Regions from separate parts of the Homo sapiens genome. Here region 1 is linked to region 2. The links are contacts of gene promoters, found by promoter capture Hi-C in human tissues and cell types (Jung and others, 2019). All regions are on one chromosome and are shown on one strand. The core of a region is centred on a gene start or on the middle of the fragment in contact, and the rest is flanking DNA. Distances in the headings are between cores, read along the strand shown. Region 1 overlaps PAXBP1 (PAX3 and PAX7 binding protein 1). Region 2 holds the start of IL10RB (interleukin 10 receptor subunit beta).

Region 1 (6,426 bases), core at 80-2,579, 530 kb before region 2:
CCAGTTGGCCCTGCTGAAACTTTAGAACTGCACCAATGTCTAAGACTTTCATCCTCCTTCCTTCACACAGGTGAGACCTGCCTGCCTCATTGTCTGACAGCTTTCCCAGCCTCCTCCAGGCTCCCCTCCGTTTTCTCTTATACGCATTCCCCCAATAAACTTCCTGTACATTTAATACCATCTCAGTGTCTGCTCCCAGGAGGACCCTAACTGACACACTGGGGCATTTAGCCTCCAATTCCTTTTCTCCCTTGGCTGAGATCTGTTCCAGGAAGTATCTCCAGGACACTCCAGCCTGTTGCACAGGCCAAAGAAAAGCCCTCAGGCAGAGGAGCAAATACTTGCAAGAGGACACCAGTGGCAAGAACAGGGACATGGTGAGACTTCGACATCATTGGCTACAGTAGTACTAGTCACTCTTGACTGTGGTTTATGTTGTTTCAATAAAGTAGCTTTCCTTCTCAAAAACATTTGTCACCTATTTTGGAGTTAATTCAGAGGATTGCTCCAAAAGAAAAAACTGAAAAGCAAAACCAGCTTTATTAAAATGTAACCCTCTGGATTTATCTTTTGATAATTCCTTTCATAAGAAATAATGTCCTTAAGCTATTTCAGGAATAAAAATGTTCTGCTTGGGATAGAAAAACCATTGTTTTATGTACCCTACATCAAATTCCTAGTGTGATGTTCAAACCCATTCCTGAAACCAATATAGCCTGACAGATTTCATAGGATAAAAACTCTATTTTAAGAGTTCTTAAAAGCAGAGTAATTAGTCTAATGGGTTTGGAAATAATATGCAGTTTAAGGCCTAAATGATCTGTATGTGATACAGATACATGTTTTATGTTTTATTCTACTTAAGATGAGGAATAGGTGTTCTGACTTTAATTCTACTTAGTAGGCCAGTAAGGTGTAATGAAAAATTCATCCAGAATGAATACTGATTTGGTTTGGTTCTGTGTCCCCACCCAAATCTCACCTTGAATTGTAATAATCCCCACATCAAGGGCGGGACCAGGTGGAGATAACTGAATCATGGGGGGTGGTTTCCGCCATGCTGTTCTCCTGAGTTCTCATGAAATCTCATGGCTTCATAAGGGACTTCCCCCTTCCCTCAGCACTCATTTCTCTCTGCAGCCACCCTGTGAAGACGTGCCTTTCGTCAAGATTGTAAGTTTCCTGAGGCCTTCCCACCCATGCGGAACTGTGAGTCAATTAAACCTCTTTATAAATTACCTAGTCTCAAGTATGTCCCTATAACAGCGTGAGAATGAACTAATACAAATATGTAGGGATAAGATAAAATTAACAGAGCAAATACAGTGCATGACACTGTTCTGCATATTATGTCCTGATCAAGGGTACACATGGGCCTGCTCACAGTCCCACTTTATTAGAGTCATTTGAAATGCTGCAAATTTAGTCGTCAGGAAAATACAACAAAGGATATATTTAAAAATTAATTTAATGCTTGGCTAAATCTTAATTACATATATAATTATCAAACGATAGTCCTTAATTTCCAAAAAAATTCCTCTTTTGAAAATCACAGAATCAGAAAGCATAAACTTTAAAACAAGTTCTCTGAATATTTACAATGTGGTATAAACATTATAGAAGACCATGGATATTAAATTGCCTGGGTGTGGCTAATCAGCAAGGCGTATTCTTTATTGCATATTTAACTCACATATGTGGGATTTTAAATATGACAGACTACTAAAATTCAAATGCATGTATCTGCAAGCTGGGCAGGGAGTAAAATCATGAATGAGACAGGACGGTCAGCCCAAAACCATGCAATTAGGTTGTGGGTTTATTATTTTCAAAAGTGAAATTTCTATGTTCCATTTGAAACTATGTTGCATATTCATTTAGCATTCACATTAAACCCACATTTGACTCTAACGCTGATTCAAGGAAGAAAGTTCAACATTCACTCAATGACTAAGTCCACAACTCAACTCTCAATGTTAAGGCAGCACAGCTACAGTGATAGCAACGCTAACCAAAAGGTAATGAACATTTAGTCACTTGCCAGCCCTTTTGTTACAACAGTGTAGTAATTTCCCTAAGACAATTTGCTACCGGATAATTTTCTGCTGTTAAAAGGCTTCCTCTGTGGAAAAACACCACAAATTTCCAGTGTGAAAGTAAGTCCATGGTGGTATAAATATATATATGCATAATTACACAATTTACACTGCACACATCGTTTACAGGGGACAATTAACTGAGAGGGTTAATTTAAATGACCATACAAAATACTTCAGTAAACAAAGTATGACAGGCAGTAAAGAAAACATTCATAGACTCCTAGAAATAATCTGAATTCCTTTCATTCTGAAGAAATATCATTTAAGGACACAGTATTGAATATAATGTTTTTTGTATTAAAACAAGAATTGCTATTTTACAGTTTAAGAAACTTTACATATATACAAAATTTACACATTGGGAATGGTAATCAAGCAAATAGGTTTTTCAGTCTCATAGATCTATTTTCCTTCGATCAAAGACTTAAATTCTTTCACATTGTGGTCACTTGCAACAGACATAGCATGATCCAAAGCTCGAACACTTGCAAGGAGTTTTACTATCTGTTTTATGTTTTCCCTAAAAGAAAAAAATATAGCAGCATCTCATTAATTAGTATATCTAAGAGAAAATTTGCTACTGATTTCATGGCTATTTTAGAGCTTCTGCAATCAATTTTTCCAAGCACACATTTTCAAAGAAAGGAAACAGATATGCAAGCTACAGCATGTTAAAAAAAAAAAAGTTTACATTTATCCATATAGAACAAAACTTACATATGTTTAAATGACTAGCCCAGAGACAGGGGACCCATTTTAAAAAAGCAAAACAAAATTCATTGAGATCAATGAGTTTCATTAATATTGAGAAAGAAAAGAAAGCAATCTGTTTTCAAACTACTTCAGAGGCCTGTCTCCCATTCCTTCCCAAACCAGAGTCCTGGCTGTTTTAGCGTATACCTGGAACACAAATCGTTATTTGTGTCTCTTCATCACCAATCTGTCAAGATCCAGCATAATTTCCACTCCACCAAAATTCACTAAATAAAGTATAATCTGACTTTCCTTATCACTCCAGCTAGAAGTCATTCTGCTTTCTTACTAGGAAGTAATCCTCAAATTTTAGCACACATTAGAATTACCTAGAGGATTGTTGAAATGCAGATCATCCCTGGCCCCACCCCAAGAGTTCTATTCAAGAGGCCCAGAGTGGGGCCCCGAGAACTTGCAAGTCTATCAGACTCCCATGCCATGCTGATACTGCTGGTCCAGGGACCACACTTTAAGAATGACTGTTTTAACATTTAGCTTAAACCACTCACGAGAAACAAGACATAATATGACATTAGTAATTGTCTCATCTCTTCTACAGAATTGTAGTAAGCACCTATTAGGGAAGAATTAGAATTTGCAAAACTTTCCAACCCACATGAAACCTGCTTTATGTGCACTGCACAAAGCAGGTGCTTACATAGCTGTTAAAGTTCTTTTCTGTAGAAAAGTAAACACTATTTGTTGATATTTAACTTCCAAACAGAAACACTGTTAAATATATGTAAATCAAAGTTTAAAATGTGATAAAATTTATCTAGTAGAAAACACAGAGAAAAAAATATTAGTGCCAACAAATAACAAAATGGCACACACTAAGAACAAAATCAAATCAGCCAAAACCTGCCAAAGAATTTTACCATTAAAATCTTTTTTGTTGTTGTTTTTTGAGACGGAGTGTTGGTCTTTCACCAGGCTGGAATGCAGTGGCGCAATCTCAGCTCACTGCAACCTCTGCCTCCCAGGTTCAAGCAATTCCCCTGCCTCAGCCTCCCGAGTAGGTGGGACTATAGGCACGCACCACCACACCCAGCTAATTTTTGTATTTTTAGTAGAAACAGGGTTTCACCATGTTGGCCAGGATGGTCTCCATCTCCTGACCTCATGATCCACCTGCCTCAGCCTCCCAAAGTACTGGGATTACAGGCATGAGCCACCATGCCTGGCCTAAAATCTTTAATAGCTACTTTAATTTTATTGTGGAAAAAATATCCAATTTTCTTGCAGGAAAATAGGTCCTTTTTCAAGAAAGGGGAATGAGGGATCAGAAGAAGGTTTTGTTATAGGGGTATGACTAATGGTGTGATCTAAACAAAAATTAGACTTTGACATTATGAAGATATATGAAATTAAAATTTTAAAAAGACAATTCCTTCAAACTGCCCTACTTAGTGTTATTATTTACTTTTTATGCTAGAGATTTATCCCAGAATTACCTGAACACCCATAAATTAATGTCCACAGAAAGGCTAATGGTTCACTCACTCTTTTCTTACAACCCTTGATAAAAATTAGAAATAAGTTGCCCCAAAAAGCCATGAGTGATAACCTCTAGTTCATAATATTGATTAAAACAAAAAATCTCCCCAAATTGGGAGATAAACTTGAATTTAAATCTGCATAATGAAACTCCAAACAAGAGAGTCTGAGACCTCTCTAATTCTTCAAAGAGGGAGACAGAGAAAACAACCGTTTACTCACTCCCCTGAGGGTTGGTCCTTACCAGAAGTCTTTCCTTAGTATCTTCATAAATAACATACTGAAAAAAAGTAAAAACTGCTAAAATGAAAAATTATGTGCATTTTTGGTAGGTTTATAATACTAAGTGAACATACAATTTAAACTAAAATATAAACATCTCTACTTAAAACATTTTAATACTAAATCTGGCAACTAAACAACTCTAGATTACCATTTCATTAATTACAAAATTACCTTGCATTTCTTTTTTCCACATCAGAACACCCGATACTATTTCTATAAATTGTATCCGCTAAGTGTACAAGGTATCGGCAAAAGTTTTCTAACTGAGAAATAGTCCTTTCTCCTTTCAGATTCATGAACCATTGTTTGGGGAAACAATTGATTACCTGTGGAGAAGAAAGACGTAAAATAAAATAGTTAAGACAGAATAAATTAAAGTATTAAAAGCAAAGTCTAGTTAATGGGTATAAATGTATTTCACCAGAAGACGTGCTTCTGAGCTACAGCAATTACTCTGAAGAAATATTCTTTTAAATCTGACTTCCTACATTAACTAAACCAATATACCTAAATTTTTACCCCAACCAATGGGTTAGGCACTCAAAGCAAAAGATAATCTGTCCAATATTTGAGTAAATTAGTAACATAAAACTGACAACCAACTGCTTCATTTTCCAGTCTTCTAGGATGGCCTAAATATACTGAATTTCCTTTTCCAGCAGCTTTTGATGTAAAAATGAGTGGTATAAAAATGAAATTACAGCACCCCCATCCCCTGCAATAATTCCACGAATAGACATCCATGCATGCTGCTAAGGGAAGTCGAGTTGGCCCAGACTGAGGTTAAGATAATAAGGTTATTATTCTGAAATCAAAACTTTTATTTATACCTATAAAAATATCAAAACTTTCACTAATATCTATAAAAATATGGATATAGATGGATATATATATATATAACAGTATGCATTTTTATGTAAAAAATGCTGTAGGGGGTTGGAACTACCTGGGTAGGCAAACTGTCAACCTTACATGCAAGTCCAGTAATCAAAGGGGTTTCATAAAATTCTCAAATCCCTCTTCAAACAAACAAAAACTTAATTCATTTTAAATTATATGCTTTAAAAACTGTACTATGCATTTAACTCACATTTTGGGCTTTTTTGATGCTGTCATCTCCATATTCTGAATTCTGAAAAGCCATGAGAATATATCGATTTAATAAACCATCTATTGATAACTCTTGCAGAGTTTTATTTGAGAAAATGCCATACCACTGAAGAAAATTGCCTAACAGCTGGAAAGAAGAAAAAAAATAGGTAATGTGAAACAATTAGATTAGGTACAAAGTAAATAAGTTACATAGTAAAACACCATATGAAATACAGCAGACCATGTCTTGCCAAAGTACTAAGAAATATTAATACTTTCAAAGGTACAGATATTTCCTAGAATGGTTACATTTGAATATTCAATTTTAATTAGTCAAAATCGAAACAGCCACATGTAGCTAGTGGCTACAGCACTGGTCAGCACAGATACAGAACATTTTCCATCATTGCAGACAGTACTATCAGGGAGTGCTGAGTCTTAGGTAAGTGTCCTCCATTCAAAATTACACTCTAGCTGGTTCTATGCACACCCCCACCCCGCCCCGCGCTGCCCACAAAAGATGGGAGAGTCTGACTACAACCCTGCATGGCTACCATGTATCATGAACTACAACCAAGTTATATCACTTATGCATCTCAAGCTACCCAAGCTCAATCAATATATAGAAAATGAAAGCTATCATCATAAAATGAAAGCCCCATCCCATCCCACCATAAAAACTTATAGTTTCCCAGTTGTT
Region 2 (4,913 bases), core at 1,847-4,346:
GTGACGACTTAGAAGCCCCTCTGATGCTATCGTCTCATCTGGAAGAGATGGTTGACCCAGAGGATCCTGATAATGTGCAATCAAACCATTTGCTGGCCAGCGGGGAAGGGACACAGCCAACCTTTCCCAGCCCCTCTTCAGAGGGCCTGTGGTCCGAAGATGCTCCATCTGATCAAAGTGACACTTCTGAGTCAGATGTTGACCTTGGGGATGGTTATATAATGAGATGACTCCAAAACTATTGAATGAACTTGGACAGACAAGCACCTACAGGGTTCTTTGTCTCTGCATCCTAACTTGCTGCCTTATCGTCTGCAAGTGTTCTCCAAGGGAAGGAGGAGGAAACTGTGGTGTTCCTTTCTTCCAGGTGACATCACCTATGCACATTCCCAGTATGGGGACCATAGTATCATTCAGTGCATTGTTTACATATTCAAAGTGGTGCACTTTGAAGGAAGCACATGTGCACCTTTCCTTTACACTAATGCACTTAGGATGTTTCTGCATCATGTCTACCAGGGAGCAGGGTTCCCCACAGTTTCAGAGGTGGTCCAGGACCCTATGATATTTCTCTTCTTTCGTTCTTTTTTTTTTTTTTTTTTGAGACAGAGTCTCGTTCTGTCGCCCAAGCTGGAGCGCAATGGTGTGATCTTGGCTCACTGCAACATCCGCCTCCCAGGTTCAAGTGATTCTCCTGCCTCAGCCTCCCTCGCAAGTAGCTGGGATTACAGGCGCCTGCCACCATGCCTAGCAAATTTTTGTATTTTTAGTAGAGACAGGATTTTACCATGTTGGCCAGGCTGGTCTCAAACTCCTGACCTCAAGTGATCTGCCCTCCTCAGCCTCGTAAAGTGCTGGGATTACAGGGGTGAGCCGCTGTGCCTGGCTGGCCCTGTGATATTTCTGTGAAATAAATTGGGCCAGGGTGGGAGCAGGGAAAGAAAAGGAAAATAGTAGCAAGAGCTGCAAAGCAGGCAGGAAGGGAGGAGGAGAGCCAGGTGAGCAGTGGAGAGAAGGGGGGCCCTGCACAAGGAAACAGGGAAGAGCCATCGAAGTTTCAGTCGGTGAGCCTTGGGCACCTCACCCATGTCACATCCTGTCTCCTGCAATTGGAATTCCACCTTGTCCAGCCCTCCCCAGTTAAAGTGGGGAAGACAGACTTTAGGATCACGTGTGTGACTAATACAGAAAGGAAACATGGCGTCGGGGAGAGGGATAAAACCTGAATGCCATATTTTAAGTTAAAAAAAAAAAAAGCAAACACAAAGATGCTTCAAGATCTTCAGGAGAAGTATGGTATACAAGTTTCAGGGACCCTATTTGACAATTTTCAGAGTGCTCTCTATGCTGATTCCGAGTCGAGTGTGTCAGCTGTGATTACAGTGCCTGTGGATCTAGGCCGGGTTGGGGGGGTGTGGGCGGGGGAAGGGAAGTCTGGCCCGGAGCAATTGCTCCTGCCGGTAACCCCAGCACTTTGGGATGCCTAAACAGGCGTATCGCTTGAGGCCAGTAATTCGAGACCAGCCTGGGCAACATGGCAAATCTGTCTCTACAAAACAAAATTAGAAAAATTAACTGGGCGTAGTGGCATGTGCCTGTTGTCCCAGCTACTTGGGAGGCTGAGGTGGGAGAATGGCTTGAGCCCAGGAAGCGGAGGTTGCAGTGAGCCAAGATCATGTCACTGCACTTCAGCCTGGGTGACAGAACCAGACCCTGTCTTTAAAAAGGGAGTTGGTGGGGAGAGGTTCTAGAATGTCATGTAGCAACCAGTTTAAGGACTGGGACTCAGGGATCCAACTCCCACAGTTTCCCTGTGTGACCCTAGGCATTTGACTTAGCCTTTCTGAGCCTCAGGTTTTTTGTTTCTGAAGTAAAAGGATTGGACTAGGTAATCTCCAAGATCCTAGGAACCCAGGAGAAAGATGAGAAAATGTACAAGAATGAACACTCAGGTGGAAATGCTGCAATCCTGAGAAGCTCCCAGGATGAATGAAAGGCACAGGACCTCTTACCCCTCACCCCTGCCCCCCTCAAGAGCTGGTTTCTCAAACCTTTCTCTTAGGCCCCTTCAAAGGGGGAAAACTAAAAATTATACAAGTTATAGTTCAAGGACTTTAAATAGATTATTTATATGATTGCTCATAAGGATGAGGCTGTGAGGAGGGAACACCTTATTTAATCTAATGAAATTCCATAGGAAAGAGGCCTTTTGTATATTGAATCAATTTATCTGCCTTCTCAGTGCATCTGTCATATTCTGAAAGATTCTGGGTTGATCTTTTGCGATAACCTCTATGGCTGTGAGTGTGTGTGTGTGTTTGTGTATTTTTTAACATTTTGTATAATGATTGGAGGTTGGTAAAAAGTAACACAACAGTACTTTTTTAATACAAACTTGGTGTGGTCTTGAGTTGTCTTCCATTGGAGAGCGTACGTGTGCCACAGATTGGTGCACCTGCCGGCATCTCTAGGATTGCACCAACTCCCTCTAGCTCTTCTTGGTGGCCTGCAGGGGCCTAGGGCGCATTCACTTCCCTCTGCTTGACTTTACGTGGTGTTCTAGCGTCAGACATCAGGCGATGCCGTGCATTACCCAAGACACTGGACAGCTCCGGATCTTCCCGTCTAACCACTAATCAAGTTAAAAAGAGGAAATTAACGCTTTCTTAGTAGTCTCTGAAAGAAACTAGTTATTTGCGTAAAGATGACTTGGTTTTGTGTTGTTTATCCCTGGGGAGAAGGGTAAAGAAGACCCTCAAACTGGATTTGCTGCTGAAGTGCTTTTAACTCACCTGTGCGGAGAGCGGACTTCAAGAGAGGGCGTGCCGGTGCTCCGGACAAAACCTGGGGAATACTGAAAGCCACCACCACCACCGTCATTCCAGCATGCAGATCTCAGTCCTGGGTTGGTGTTGTAGGGCATTTATTTATTTGACTTGACGGCGCCTTTCAAAGCTTGCGAGGATCCCTTCCTCTTCCTCGTGTGCATCTGCCAAGCCTGTGCCCCGCGCCTCGCGGGTGGACCCGGGCTGGTGGGCGGGGCCTGCAGCGGGGTGGGAGCCCGGTCGCCCGGCCCCTCCCCACCCCGCCCCGCCCATCTCCGCTGGTTCCCGGAAGCCGCCGCGGACAAGCTCTCCCGGGCGCGGGCGGGGGTCGTGTGCTTGGAGGAAGCCGCGGAACCCCCAGCGTCCGTCCATGGCGTGGAGCCTTGGGAGCTGGCTGGGTGGCTGCCTGCTGGTGTCAGGTGAGGGGTCCGCGGGGAGGGGGCGCGCTTGGGAACCGGGAGGCCCCGCGAGATGCCGCCCCTGATCCCATCCCTGGGCGCCCTGCAAGTGACTTAAGAGCCTTCGGGGCCTCGGGAGAGAAGATGCAAACGCCACGGCCGGCTGCTGAGACGCAACTAGGCTGCTGCTGCCGTCGATTCTGTAACAGGAGAAAGCCCCATCCGCGCCCGGATTACAGACCGTCTGGGCCCTAAACTCAGGGGGAGACTCCCGGCGTCTTTTGATTCCCTGTCCTCCTGCAGCTCTCTGCTGGCGGGCGTCTAAATAAAGTAGCTTCCCCAAAAGACCCAAGATCCCACCGTGGCTGTCATCTGACCCTTCTGGAGACTATCAGTTCAAGTGGAGGCCCCCACCAGTCCCCGAGTGCCCTGACAGCCCTCCCTGACCCCAAGTCTGCCCCCTCAGTGCCAGCCCTCCCTACAGATGTGCCTCCCATCACCCGCTGCACCTCCCCTCCTTCCGGTTCAGGCCCGAGCACCCTGAAATCTGGATTCTGTCCCCCAGCGCCCCAGCTCCATGGCTTCTAAACCTAAATCCATTGAAACCTTTTCTGTCCTCTAAATTGACTGCCTAGGTTCCAATAACACCATGGTCACCTCCTTCCTTTCTCATGAACTCTTCCCTGGCCTTCCGGGATACCCCTCCGGTTTCCCGCCCTGTCAGGCTGTCTCTGCTTGGGACCCTCCTGCTCTGTCAGGTTTCTATGTAGCTAATTGTGATGCCCAAGGCCTTTTCTCTCCTTCCCTGGCACTGTTCCTTTGGGGGATTTCAGCCAAACCCTGGCATTAAACACGGGCTATAGGCCCATGACTCGCACATTTATATCTCTCTTGGTACCAGTTGGGTGATGGGTGGTGGTTTATTATAGTCTTCTACTTTTCTACTTGCATGTAGGTTTCAAATTTTCTTTTCTTTCTTTCTTCTTCCGTTTTTTTTTTTGTTTGTTTGTTTTTTTGTTTTTTTGTTTTTTTTTGAGACAGGGTTTTGCTCTGTTGCTGTGGCCCAGGCTGGAGTGCAGTGGCTTGATCTTGCCTCACTGCCACCTCCGCCTCCCGGGTTCAAGCGATTTTCCTCCCTCAGCCTCCCGAGTAGCTGGAATTACAGGTGTGTGCCACTACGCCTGGCTAATTTTTGTATTTTTATTGGAGATGGGGTTTCGCCATGTTGGCCAGGCTGGTCTCGAACTCCTGACCTCAGGTGATTCACCTTCCTCAGCCTCCCAAAGAGCTGGGATTACAGGCGCGAGCCACCATGCCTGGCCAGGTTTCGAATTTTCTATTAAAAGGTTTGAAAATAATTTCTGTCTCTAGCCCACATCTCTTCTTGGTGTGACCTCTGGGCTCATTCATCTGGCTGTCTCCCTGACATTCCTACTTCAGCCTCTCTCCAGCATCTCCAACCTAATGCAGCTCAAATGGGACTCGTGAGTTCCCCAGCTGAGCTCCAATCGGGGCACCAGCTGCTTAAGCCCAAAATGGACATTGACCTCAGCTTTTATGCATCAAATGTATCAGGAAGTCTCCAGTTTGTTTTTACGTCTGGAAATATATCTGAAATCCATGTGCCCACCCTACCCCCTCATAGCTTTCTGCCACCAGACAAATCCAAGGCTCCTTTGTCTGTCCCCAT

Evidence for each region. Contacts are between HindIII fragments. The study calls those that stand out against the background at their distance.
Region 1: a contact is called between a fragment that was not itself captured here and the fragment with the promoter of IL10RB in region 2, in 1 of the 25 tissues and cell types used here (dorsolateral prefrontal cortex).

The regions. Positions count from the first base shown.
Region 1 is chr21:32,732,449-32,738,874 of GRCh38, forward strand. PAXBP1 (PAX3 and PAX7 binding protein 1) reads right to left here. Exons shown (of 18, transcript NM_016631.4): 16 at 5,725-5,871; 17 at 4,806-4,960; 18 at 1,451-2,619. The coding sequence ends at 2,502. PAXBP1-AS1 (PAXBP1 antisense RNA 1) reads left to right here. Exons shown (of 4, transcript NR_038879.1): 2 at 1,141-1,209; 3 at 5,824-5,893. Among named protein-coding and RNA genes, the nearest start is that of PAXBP1-AS1, 7.5 kb to the left of the region's middle. The HindIII fragment of the contact is 7,980 bases long and covers 1-5,319 here.
Region 2 is chr21:33,263,271-33,268,183 of GRCh38, forward strand. It overlaps IL10RB (interleukin 10 receptor subunit beta), which reads left to right and starts at 3,097. Exons shown (of 7, transcript NM_000628.5): 1 at 3,097-3,244. The coding sequence starts at 3,196. All of the region lies in intron 7 of IFNAR2-IL10RB (IFNAR2-IL10RB readthrough), which reads left to right. It overlaps IFNAR2 (interferon alpha and beta receptor subunit 2), which reads left to right. Exons shown (of 9, transcript NM_001289125.3): 9 at 1-2,394. The coding sequence ends at 230. IL10RB-DT (IL10RB divergent transcript) reads right to left here and starts at 2,990. Exons shown (of 2, transcript NR_038974.1): 1 at 2,793-2,990; 2 at 2,362-2,632. RefSeq lists enhancers at 2,613-2,672, 2,703-2,772 and a silencer at 2,943-3,352. The HindIII fragment of the contact is 10,877 bases long and covers 1,175-4,913 here.